Regions from separate parts of the Homo sapiens genome. Here region 1 is linked to region 2. Evidence: promoter capture Hi-C in 16 types of primary human blood cells and fetal thymus (Javierre and others, 2016). All regions are on one chromosome and are shown on one strand. The core of a region is centred on a gene start or on the middle of the fragment in contact, and the rest is flanking DNA. Distances in the headings are between cores, read along the strand shown. Region 1 holds the start of C1QTNF4 (C1q and TNF related 4). Region 2 overlaps MADD (MAP kinase activating death domain).

The links. Contacts are between HindIII fragments. The CHiCAGO score rates a contact against its expected background, and 5 or more counts as called.
Region 1: a contact is called between the fragment with the promoter of C1QTNF4 here and a fragment that was not itself captured in region 2, in 1 of 17 cell types (M2 macrophages). The highest score is 5.6, in M2 macrophages.

Annotation. Positions count from the first base shown.
Region 1 is chr11:47,592,443-47,598,306 of GRCh38, reverse strand. It overlaps C1QTNF4 (C1q and TNF related 4), which reads left to right and starts at 3,896. Exons shown (of 2, transcript NM_031909.3): 1 at 3,896-4,159. The HindIII fragment of the contact is 4,016 bases long and covers 2,583-5,864 here.
Region 2 is chr11:47,311,507-47,317,772 of GRCh38, reverse strand. It overlaps MADD (MAP kinase activating death domain), which reads right to left. Exons shown (of 37, transcript NM_001376571.1): 29 at 5,931-6,041; 30 at 2,446-2,553. Among named protein-coding and RNA genes, the nearest start is that of MYBPC3, 38 kb to the left of the region's middle. The HindIII fragment of the contact is 1,449 bases long and covers 3,155-4,603 here.

The DNA.
Region 1 (5,864 bases), core at 2,647-5,146, 280 kb before region 2:
ACCCCATCTCTACTAAAAATACAAAAAAAAAAATTAGCCGGGCGTGGTGGCGGGCGCCTGTAGTCCCAGCTACTCAGGAGGCTGAGGCAGCAGAATGGCGTGAACCCGGGAGGCGGAGCTTGCGGTGAGCCAAGATCGCGCCACCGCACTCCAGCCTGGGCGACTGAGCGAGACTCCGTCTCAAAAAAAAAAAAAAAAGCGCACAGATACCAGTGGGTTTTCACCATGGAGAACTTAACTCTGCTGGAGTCTCTCTGAGTCTGAAACATGACCTGGAATTGGGAATTGGAATGCTCCCATCGAGGGACCAGAAAGCTGGGGTATTTACCCCTAACTCTGGACCATTGGCTGATGGTTGCTCTGGGGGTATTAACTCTACAGCCCTTTGGGCCTGCCCCACACTAACTCCCATAGCTGAAAATGCCCTCAGGAGGGACACAGGAAGTAGGCGCCTGGTCAGGAACTGTCTGTGGGTGCCCTCCTGGTAGGCCTGGAGGTGTGGGTGGGCCACTGACAGCATCTACTACACTCAGTGAAAGGAACCTGCTATTAAAATTATTGTTGTTGGCTGGGCACCGTGGCTCACGCCTGTAATCCCAGCATTTTGGGAGGCCGAGGCAGGTGGATTACTTGAGGTCAGGAGTTCAAGACCAGCCTGGCCAACGCCATCTCTACTAAAAATACAAAAATTAGCCTGGTGTGGTGGCATACGCCTGTAATCCCAGCTACTCAGGAGGCTGAGGCAGGAGAATCACTTGAACCCAGGAGGCGGAGGTTGCAGTGAGCCGAGATCGCACCATTGCATTCCAGCTTGGGTGACAAGAGTGAAACTCCATTTCAAAAAATAAAAATAAATAAAAATTATTGTTGTTTATTAGCTGCCACGTGGTGGCAGGCTGACGGGGGAGGATCACTTAAGCCCAGGCTGCAATGAGCCAAGATCGTGCCACTGCACTCCAGCCTGGGTGACAGAGTAAGAACCTATCTCAGCCAGGCGCAGTGGCTCACTCCTGAAATCCCAGCATTTTGGGAGGCTGAGGCGGGCGGATCACCTGAGGTCAGGAGTTTGAGAACAGCCTGACCAACATGCAGAAACTCCATCTCTACTAAGAATACAAAATTAGCCAGGGTGGTGGTGCATACCTGTAATCCCAGCTACTCAGGAGGCTGAGGCAGGAGAATCACTTGAACCTGGGAGCGGGAGGTTGCGGTGAGCCAAGATTGCTCCATTGCACGCCAGCCTGGGCAACAAGAGCAAAACTCCATCTCAAGAAAAGAAAAAAGAACCCGTCTCAATTTATATATATTTTAATGTTAATTTTTTTAACTTTTTTTTTAAGTGATGGGGACAGCTGGGCGCGGTGGCTCACGCCTGTAATCCCAGCACTTTGAGAGGCCAAGGCGGGCGGATCACGAGGTCAGGAGTTCCAAGACCAGCCTGACCAACATGGTGAAACCCCGTCTCTACTAAAAATACAAAATATTAGTCGGACATGGTGGCGCGCTCCTGTAATCCCAGGTACTCAGGAGGCTGAGGCAGGAGAATCGCTTGAACCCGGGAGGCGGAGGTTGCAGTGAGCCAAGATCGCAGCATTGCACTCCAGCCTGGGCAACAGAGCGAGAGTCTGTCTCAGAAAAAAAAAAAAAAAAGAGAGAGAGAGATGGGGTCTCACTCTGTTGCCCAGAGTGGTCTCAAACTTCTGAGCTCAAGCGATCTTCCCACCTTGGCCTCCCAAAGTGCTAATATCATAGGCGTAAGCCACCATGCCCAGCCATACCCGTCTCAATTAAAAAATAAATAAAATAATTGTTGTTTAAGACCAGCCTGGGCAACAGAGTGAGACCTCGTCTCTACAAAAAATTTTAAAAAAAATTAGCCAGGCATGGTGACCTGCACCTGTAGTCCCAGCTACCTGGGAGGCTGAGGTGGGAGAATCACTTGAGCCCGCAAGGTCAAAGCTGCAGTGAGCCAAGATCATACCATTGCACTCCAGCCCAGGTGACACAGCAAGACCCTCTCTCAAAAATAAATAAAATTGTGGCTGCAAAACAAGAGAGGAGGGAGCAGGGACTATAACCAGCCTAGGGCTTTTCTCTGGATCCTGCTGCCACCTCTTCTTAACTCCCATTCTGGAGCCCACCCATCTGCCTTACACCCACCAGCTCATGGCATCATCTTTCTCTATATCCCTTTCCCAGTGGCTTCCTCCCTATCCCAGTCCCCTGATGCAAATCCTGATGTCATCTGCCCCAGCCACCCATCTCTACCTCAACCCTCACTTCTCTGGTGAGAACTCTTGTGGATCCAGGGAGTGTCAAATCCCAGCCTGAACCAAACCTCAACTGAGATTATATTATCCTATAATATACCTTCTCCCCTCCCCTCCCCTCCCACCATTGGAATCACCCTCAGGAGAGCAGCTCCACTCTTCTCATCCAGAAGGGGCCCATGGCCCTAAGAAGGGCCATAGATTGCCATAGGTTGGCTTTTGGCATCCCCCAGCTCTCCTTCGACATCCCTGTGTGGCTCATCCCACCCTTACCCTGCTTCTTGTCCTCCCCACAGTCCTGTGGCCCAAGCTTTTCAAGTTGGTGAAAGAGACAGTTGTGATCTGACAAGGGCTAGACAGGTGCTTCACCCTCTGTCACCAAATACCCTCATTATCCAGCCCAAAACACCTCCATTCATTCCTTTCTATTCTGGCACATATTCGTTAATTCATTCCATCATTCACCTAACACCCTTGAAGCAGAGCCAATCACCTCTACCAACATCTTCCTAGAGACAAATAGATTAACTGGGGTGGGGTAAACTTTGAGAGCTCCAAAAGGAAAGCTCCAGAGGACGGGGGTTCTGCAGGGGTCCAGGCCTCTCAGGGACCACAGAGCAGACCTGCAGCAGAGGCAGAATTAGAGCCCATGGCTCTGGAGTCAACCAGGGCCAGGCAGAGGGCACCAGCTCTTGGCTGCTGAAAGTAGAGCTCTTCAAAAGTCATCCACTCAGTCAGCATCTACTGAGTGCCAGGCAGTGTCGTCACCTCTACAGCCGTCAGGGGAGAGAACAGCAGCCTAGAGAAAGGGAGTCTGAGCCCCCATCCCACGGGCTCGAAGCCCAGAGTAGAGGCCAGCACTAGTGCCTCTGGTGAGTATTACCATGGGAAGACCGCTGTTCCCAGCCCGGGTGCCCTGCTGGACTCTTGCTAGCCTGGCCCCAGCGAGGCAGGGCATCAGTTTCCCTCTCCAGAGGCCTTTCTTCCCCACCTATTGCCCTCTCAATCCTGTCCCTTCTTGCAGGAGCAACCTTCCCAGCAGAAAATTCCATTCTGCCCCAAGGACTCTCCTCCTTACTGCCCCTCACCCCGGGGAACGCAGGCTGCCCCTCTGATGCCTGCAGACTCCCTTCTCCCTCTTTCCTAACCGACCGTGGGCATTTTCCAATTTGGAGGTGAGGAGGAAAAACTAGGTTATTTTCAGCTCTTCCTTTACTGGCAACATTGACCCATTTATCCTTCTCTTCCTTCAGACCTCTCCCCCAAGGCCACTTAGCTTGGACATCTGTCCCAGCCAAAATCTCACCTTCCACTGTCCTTGCAGCCCAAAGGCTAGTCCAGCCTCTGAGTCCAGCTCTAGCCCTCTCTCCCCACACTAGGAAGGAAGCTGGACTGTAGAGCGCTCTGGGCCACCCCGCGTTAGCTGCTGCCTCTGGCCTCAGTTTCCCCAACTGCTCAGATTAATGATGCCTGCTCTCTAGACCCAGAGGACGAAGCTCTAAGGAGGTCACAGATGAGGAAGGGTCCAGTGCTCGGCGCAGACTCCGTGCGGAGCCCCTAGGCCCCGCAGCTCGCCCCTCCCTCTCCCCTACTCCCCTCCTCTCCCCCTCCCGTCTCTCCCCCGCCTCTTCGCTCTCGCTCGGCTCCCTCTCTAGCTGACCTTCCCTTTCCCTCACGCCTCCCCACGCCCGGCCCCTGGCCCCAGCACCCTGTCCGCTGCCGCCTCAGAGCCGGGAAAAGCAGCCGGAGCCCCCGCCGCCCCTGCCGCAGCGCGGGCGGTCAGCGCGCAGCCCGGCACCCGCAGCCTGCAGCCTGCAGCCCGCAGCCCGCAGCCCGGAGCCAGATCGCGGGCTCAGACCGAACCCGACTCGACCGCCGCCCCCAGCCAGGTGAGGGCAGCTGAGGGGAGGCAGGGAGCCGAGGTTCCCCCTTTACTGGAAGCGAGGGCTGGGGAGGCGCGGGGAAATTGGGTCCTTTTTCCTTGAAAGGAGGACCTGGGAGCCTTTTCGTGAAACAGGCACAAGGGCTTTCATTCCAAAGGGATGGATGGATGGAGGGAAGGTCTCGGGGGAGAGGGATTGGTTTTTGTTTTTTAAAAATAAGGATTAATTGGCTTCTGTGAAAGTGGGACTTCTTGGAAGGATGAGGGGCTTTCAAGGTAGGTTGGGGAGGGGGCTCTGGCAGGGCTTGAGGGAAGGGTTAACTGGTGAGTGGCAGGGCAAGGGGGAACTCTGCGATCCCCTCAGCCTGACATCGCTGCACCTCCCGCCTTGGCTCCGGGGCTCTGGGTCTCTCCAGCTCTGTGTCCCAGTTTTTCTCTTTGAAGATGACTATTTTGAACCCCACCTGGACAGAGCCAGGAACAGCCATTTCCTTCCCTGGAGCTATGACACCCACCTGACACACCCTCCCACACCTCTGACCTGCTCAGGGAAGGGGGTTCAGGGAAGGACGAGGATCCAGGGATCTGGGAATTGGGCAGTGTGGGTGAAACGGAGGCTGGGTACTGGGTGCACAGGAAGACCCTTGGCACTGGTGGGGTGCACCAGCCTTGGTCAGGAGGTTGCTGGGCAGCTGCTTCTGGGGCAGGACCCACTAGGAAAGCAGCGGTATGGAAAAGCTGAGCTGTTTTCCGTGTTCCCAGAAGACAAAACACTAGAGAATGTGTTTGCTTGCTTTTGTTTGGTTTTGCTTTCTGTCTTCCTCACCCTGGATCCCAAGACTCATTCCTCTGATCTCCTCTCCTAGTTTTGCAAAAAGGTAAACTGAGGCACAGAACAAATTGGCTGGACATACCTGTGTCTAGGAGGGAAGAGTGACAGGAAGGCATACGGAATTTGAGTCAAAAAACCTCAGTGCTCCATGGGTGACCTTGGGCCAAAATGCTTTCCCTTGTTGGGCCTCAGCTTTCTCATCTATAAAATGGGAGACGGCCCACCTGTCTTGTAGGTTTGCCAAGACCATGTGTCTAAAAGAACTTTGTAAAAGGGAATGCACTGGACACTTGTGAGGTGCCATCTTCACCACTGTGGATGGCCCCTTCCCTCCTCCCTGTCCTAACCAAGGGACACCTAACTAATCCATAGGACACCTTTGTGAGAATTACAAAAAGCACCTCCTCTGGAAGGAGACAGCATTCAGTTGGCTAGCAACTTGGGGTCTTTAGTATGAGAATGAGAAGGTGGCATACTTTACGCCAGGTGCTGCTCTAACATGTGGAGTGTGAGCTAGATTCTAGCTGGGACGTTCTGCACATCTACACCTGACAACCCTTCTCAGCAGGTCCCTGCTGTCTCTAAGAGACACAGAGCTACACATACAGGGCATTTTCTAAAGCAGCCCACATCCCAGGCTGTCTCCAGCTCATTTCTTTCCTGTTTTGTTTCCACATCAGGGCTTTTGGGTATTCAAGCCCCAAAGCACGTGCCCTACTAGGAAGCAGGATGGAATCCCTACATCAGAGAGTGACTCCTTTGAGTTAAGCAGTGCCTTCACCAAGCTCTCAGGGGTAGGAGTGACTGAGTCCCTAAACCCTTACGTCAAGAACTGGACCAGATCACTTTTGTCAGGGCAACCGACAGAAGCATCTGCACA
Region 2 (6,266 bases), core at 2,630-5,129:
TATATACAAATAAAAAATTTATGTGTGTCAAAAAATACCATAGGCAAAATCAGAAGACAAATGAGGAACTTTCTGGTGGGCAGATCAGGTTGCCCACATCTGAGCCCACTGATGTGTAAGAGAGGGACAACCATATGAGGCAATAGGAAGCGTATAGCACCACTCATTAAGTATTCTTCCCAAAAGAGTGAATCTGAAAGTGATCAAACCTCTAAACTGAACTACCAGTCTATGAGAAATATGTGACAGGAAACACGCTAATACAAAGGAGACACAATCAGCAAAAAATCTAGAATGTAGGAGACTCCACAGGGCAAACGATCCAATTTCTTCAACAAAATTAATGGCAAAGGGGGTATTACGTGTTATGAGACACTTAAGAATTATATCAACCAAAATTACAAATGCATTGTCCCTCTGACCCAGCAATCTCATTTCTGGGAATCCTTAGACACACTTGCACATGTATGAAATGAAGCAGGCACAGCATCATTCACAGTATGACTATCAGTAACAGCAAATTTGGAAGCAACCCAAGGATCCATATGTACTGACTGGTTAAATAAATTAAGGCACAGTCACACAGTGGAATACATGTAGCCATAAAACCAATGGGAAAGCTTTCTTGGTACTGATACAGAAGAGGACCAGGACAATGTTAAATGAAAAAAGCAAGGGATAAAGCAATGGATAAGATGTGCTATCTTTCTGAAAGAAAGGAGAAAAATAGGCCAGGCGGGGTGGCTCACGCCTATAATCCCAGCACTTTGTGAGGCTAAGGTGGGCAGATCACTTGAGGTCAGGAGTTTGAGACCAGCCTGGCCAATATGGTGAAGCCCCGTCTCTACTAAAAATAGAAAAATTATCTGGGCATGGTGGTGGGCGACTGTAATCCCAGCTACTCAGGCAGCTGAGGCAGGAGAATCACTTGAACCCAAGGGGCAGAGGTTGCAGTGAGCTGAGTTTGGACCACTGCACTCCAGCCTGAGCAAAAGAGCAACACTCTGTCTCAAAGAAAAAAAAGAAAGGAGGAAAATAAGAATTTGTGTTCATATTTTATTGTTTGCATAAAAGTCCACTGGAAGGCCGGGTGCACCGGCTCACGCCTATGATCTCAGCACTTTGGGAGGCCGAGGCGGGTGGATCAGTGAGGTCAGGAGTTGGAGACCAGCCTGACCAACATGGTGAAACCCCATCCCTACTAAAAATACAAAAAATTAGCTGGGTGCGGTGGTGGGCGCCTGTAATCCCAGCTACTTGGGAGCCTGAGGCAGGAGAATCGCTTGAACCCAGGAGGTGGAGGTTGCAGTGAGCTGAGATCAAGCCATTGCACTCCAGCCTGGGCGACAGAGTGAGACTCCGTCTCAAAAAAAAAAAAAAAAAAAAAGAAAAAGAAAAAAAAAATCCACTGGAATTTACAAAGGAAACCAATAAAAGTGGTTGTCTATAGGATGAAGGGGTGAGGGGAGTGGGAAATTCAGTGGAAGGGGACAAGAATGAGTGCAAGACCTCCCAATGTGTACTATTTTCTGTTATTCTGATTTATGAACAATGTGACTATATCATCTATATATAGATATCTTTATGTATATGTGTGTGCGCGTGTGTGTGCGCGCGCACGTGTATAAAAGAAATGGGGCCGGGCGCAGTGGCTCACACCTGTAATCCCAGCACTTTGGGAGGTCGAGGCAGGTGGATCACTTGAGGTCAGGAGTTCAAGACCAGCCTGGCCAACGAACATGGTGAAACCCCACCTCTACTAAAATACAAAAAATTGGCCGGGCATGGTGGCGCATGCCTGTAATCCTAGCTACTCAGGAAGCTGAGGCAGGAGAATTGCTTGAACCTGGGAGGTGGAGGCTGCAGTGAGCCAAGATCACACCACTGCACTCCAGCCTGGGTGACAGAGCGATACTCTGTCTCAAAAAAAAAAAAAAAAAGAAATGGGTATCATCTACTATATAAAATTTAATTATTTGAATAACAATCTGATAATTTGGCCGGGTGCGGTGGCTCATGCCTATAATACCAGCATTTTGGAAGGCCAAGGTGGGTGGATTACTTGAGGTCAGGAGTTTGAGACCAGCCTGGCCAACATGATCAAACCCCATCTCTATTAAAAATAGAAAAATCACCTGGGCTTGGTGGCTGGCGCCTGTAATCCCAGCTACTTGGGAGGCTGTGGCAGGAGAACTGCTTGAACCCGGGAGGCGGAGGTTGCAGTGAGCCGAGATCAAGCCACTACACTCCAGCCTGGGTGACAGAGCGAGACACTATCTCAAAAAAACACACACGCAAAAAACAAAAAAACCAATCTGATAATTTAATGATAAATAGATCATGAAGATGAATGAGATAAATGAGAAAAATATCCTGGCATCGGTCCTATGAGTTCCCTGTGACTCTCAATAGCCCTTTGGGCCCCCAGCATGAACCAGCACCTACCTCCATGAAAAAGATATCTCCGTTTGTATCTGTCCCTGCATGTACCACAAATGTCTGCTTCTTCATGTGCCGGCTGCCACTGGACCAGATAGAGAGATCGCGTCCATTCTGATGAAAGAGAGATTTTTTAGGGACAGTCATACATCCCTCTCAGAGGGCTCTGGGCCAAGAATTCCCCATCCAGCAATCAAATTCATATCGGCTTCCTCAGCACAGTCTCATCTGCTGGCCACTGGTCACCAGGGAAGTGGTTTCAGATGTTTTGGTCTCAGAGGCCCTATATCTCTTAAAATTTATTGAAGATTCCAAAGAGCTTTTGTTTATGTGAGTTATATTTATAGATATTTACATACTAGAAATTTAAACAGAAATTTCTCAAATGATTAATTATAAAAACAATTAATGATTAATATAACCCATTACATAGTAATATAAACATTTTTAATAAAATAACTATATTTTCAAAAAAAAGGCACTGTTTCACATTTTTGCAAATCTCTTTAATGTTTGGCTTAGAATCAAATAGTTGCATTCTCCTATCTGCCTCTGCATTGAGTCTGTTGCAGTATGTTGCTTTGGTTGAGGTATATGAAAAAAACTTGACCTCAGAGATACGTATTTGGAAAATGGAAGAGGATTTTCATAGCCTTTTCAGATAAATAGACGTATTCTTCTTTAACACTACACCAGAACTTGGGAAGCAGAAGCTTCTTTTTTTTTAGAGACAAGGTTTCGCTCTGTCATCCAGGCTGGAGTGCAGTGGCATGACCATAGCCCACCACAGCTCTGAACTCCTGGGCTTAAGTGACACTCCTGCCTCAGCCTCCCAAGTACCTGGAATTACAGGCATAAACCACAACACCCAGCAAAAGCAGCTTTTGAAAGTTAGTTGCAGTGTGGAATCTGAAAGCACATCAATGAACATTTTACATTGTTACATTAAAATCCATTTAGGCCAGACATGGTGGCTCATTCCTATAATCCCAACACTTTGGGAGGCCAAGTCAGGAGTACCGTTTGAGCCCAGGCAGGAGTTGGAGACCAGCCTGGGCAACAAAGTGAGACCCTATTCTCCATACACTTTTTTTTTTTTTTTGAGACAGGGTCTCATTCTGTCACCCAGGCTGGAGTGCAGTGGTGCTCACGGCAGCCTCAACCTCCTGAGCTCAAGTGATCCTCCCACCTCAGCCTCCCAAGTAGCTGGGACTACAGGTGCATGCCACCATGCCTAGCTAATTTTTTTATTTTTTGTAGAAATGGGGTCTCCCTTGGCTGGGCGCGGTGGCTCACACCTGTAATCCCAGCACTTTGGGAGGCCGAGGTGGGCGGATCAAAAGGTCAGGAGTTGGAGACCAGCCTGACCAGCGTGGTGAAACCCCATCTCTACTAAAAACATAAAAATTAGCCGGGCGTTGTGGCGGGCACCTGTAATCCCAGCTACTCATGAGGCTGAGGCAGGAGAATAGCTTGAACCTGGGAGGCGGAGGTTGTAGTGAGCCGAGATCGCGCCGCTGCACTCCAGCCCGGGTGACAGAGTGAGACTCCGTCTCAAAAACAAACAAACAAACAAAAAGAAATGGGGTCTATGTTCCCCAGACTGAAAAAAAATGTTATTTAAAAATTAAGATCCATATCTCTGCCTTGCATTTTGAGTAGATCTTTTATCCATACTTGAATTTACAACATCATACATTGGTATTTAGAAAATACTGTTGGCTGGGTGCCTGTAATCCTAGAACTTTGGAAGGCCAAGGTGGGCGGATTGACTAAACTCAGGAGTTCAAGACCACAGCCTGGGCAAGATGGTGAAACCCCGTCTCTATTAAAATACAAAAAAAAAAAAAAACTAGCCAGGTGTGGCAGCATACGCCTGTACTCCCAGCTGCTCAGGAGGCTGAGGCAGGAGAATTGCTTGAACCCAGGAGCCCAGGAGGCGGAGGTAGCAGTGAGCCAGCATCCTGCCACTGCACTCCAGCCTGGGCCACAGAGCGAGACTCCGTCTCCAAAAAAAAAAAAAGAAAGAAAATAGTGTTTCACTGAGTTACACAGCTCTTCCAAATGTTGACATATTTTGTAATATTAAATCAATGTTTAAAAAATCACATTCATTAATATCACCACCAATCTCATTAGAAAAGTCTTTAAATATTGGGAAGCTTCAAGTTCAAAACTCTGCCAAAATTCTTATTTTCACTTAAAAGCTGAATCTTATCATTGGCAACAAATACTGTCAGTTGTTTTCCCTGAAACAACAGGCTCACTTGATTAACTGAAGGAAAATGTCTGCCAGTTGGGTACTCTGAATAACCATGGTTTATTAATTGTCCTTTCCAGTAAAAATGATGTTCAATGAACAAAGCGATTAAGTTCACTTGCAACTCAAGGTGAACAAATCAAGGCTGCAAATTGCTTTTCTTCAAAACAACCATCATACTGGGTTTGCAACAGAGATGCTTTATGTGTACTTCCCATTTTGTCACAAAGAATATTAAAAACATTTATAATTAATCAATCTAATAAGAGTAACAGTCTTCACTGCTTCTTCAAGGACATTTACAAGCACAACTGGCATTTTTAAAAAACTAAGAGTGTAAGCCAGGTGCGGTGGTTCACACCCGTAATCCCAGAACTTTGGGAGCTAAGGCAGGCAGATCACTTGAGGTCAGGAGTTCAAGATCAGCCTGGCCAACATGGGGAATGCCCATCTCTACTGAAAATACAAAAATTAGCTGGGCGTGGTGGTGCATGCCTGTAACCTCAGGAGCTTCAGCTACTCGGGAGGCTGAAGCAGGAAAACTGCTTGAACTCGGGAGGCAGAGGTTGCAGTGAGCCAAAATTGCGCCATTGCACTCCAGTCTGGGCAACAAGAGAGTGAAACTCTGTCTCAAAAAATATATATGTATATACAAAAATTAGCTGGGTGGGCGGGCACATGCCTGTAATCCCAGCTACTTGGGAGGCTGAGGCATGAGAATCGCTTGAACCCAGGAGGTGGAGGTTGCAGTGAGCCAAGATTGCGCTACTGCACTCCAGCCTGGGCGACAGAGTGAGAGTCAGTCTCAAAAAACAAACAAACAAAACAAAAACGAAAAACTGAGAGTATATGAAGGCAAGGAATGCAATGGCTGCTGGCATAGTTTGGGGCCATTGTCTTCACTTGGGTTACAGTGCCAGCAGTTTTACCCATCACTGCGTTGGTACCATCAGTGCAAATGTAACCCCGTGAAAACAGCAAATAACATTTTAGAATCATTTGAAATCGTTTTCACCTTCTGAACCCTCAGCAGTTCACAGACCACACATCAAAACTGATGCACTACGATGGTTTTATACAGAGAATCCCATCACAGAACACAGGGACTAATGCCTCATTTACAGTCAAAGACAACTGCTCCATTTTCAAAAACGGGGTGAACTGGACTGCAAGTGACACAAACCAAGAAATGACCCATGGGGAAGCCTAAGGGGTGGCCAGACGTGCTTACCAGGTTCGCCAGCTGATCAAGCACCTCATTGATTTGCTGGCTGTACACAAGCCCAATGTGCGACTTTCCCATTAGGCGCCTCACCTTCTTGCGGATGTCATTCTTATTTACCTGAAAAGCCAACACATGACTCTTAACAAGGGATCTGCTCTCCTCCCGACTGAGGTAGAGAAAAGAGAATGTACAAGTGGGCTTCCCACCATCTGAGAGAAGTGGAATTCTGAAAGACCACATCACTGAACATGGGAGAAAACTTTCAACTGTGTATTCTGCCACCATGAGGGGAAGAAAAGTCCTGGCTCTGTCTCTAGTTAGCTTCTGCAGAAAAGTGGCTCT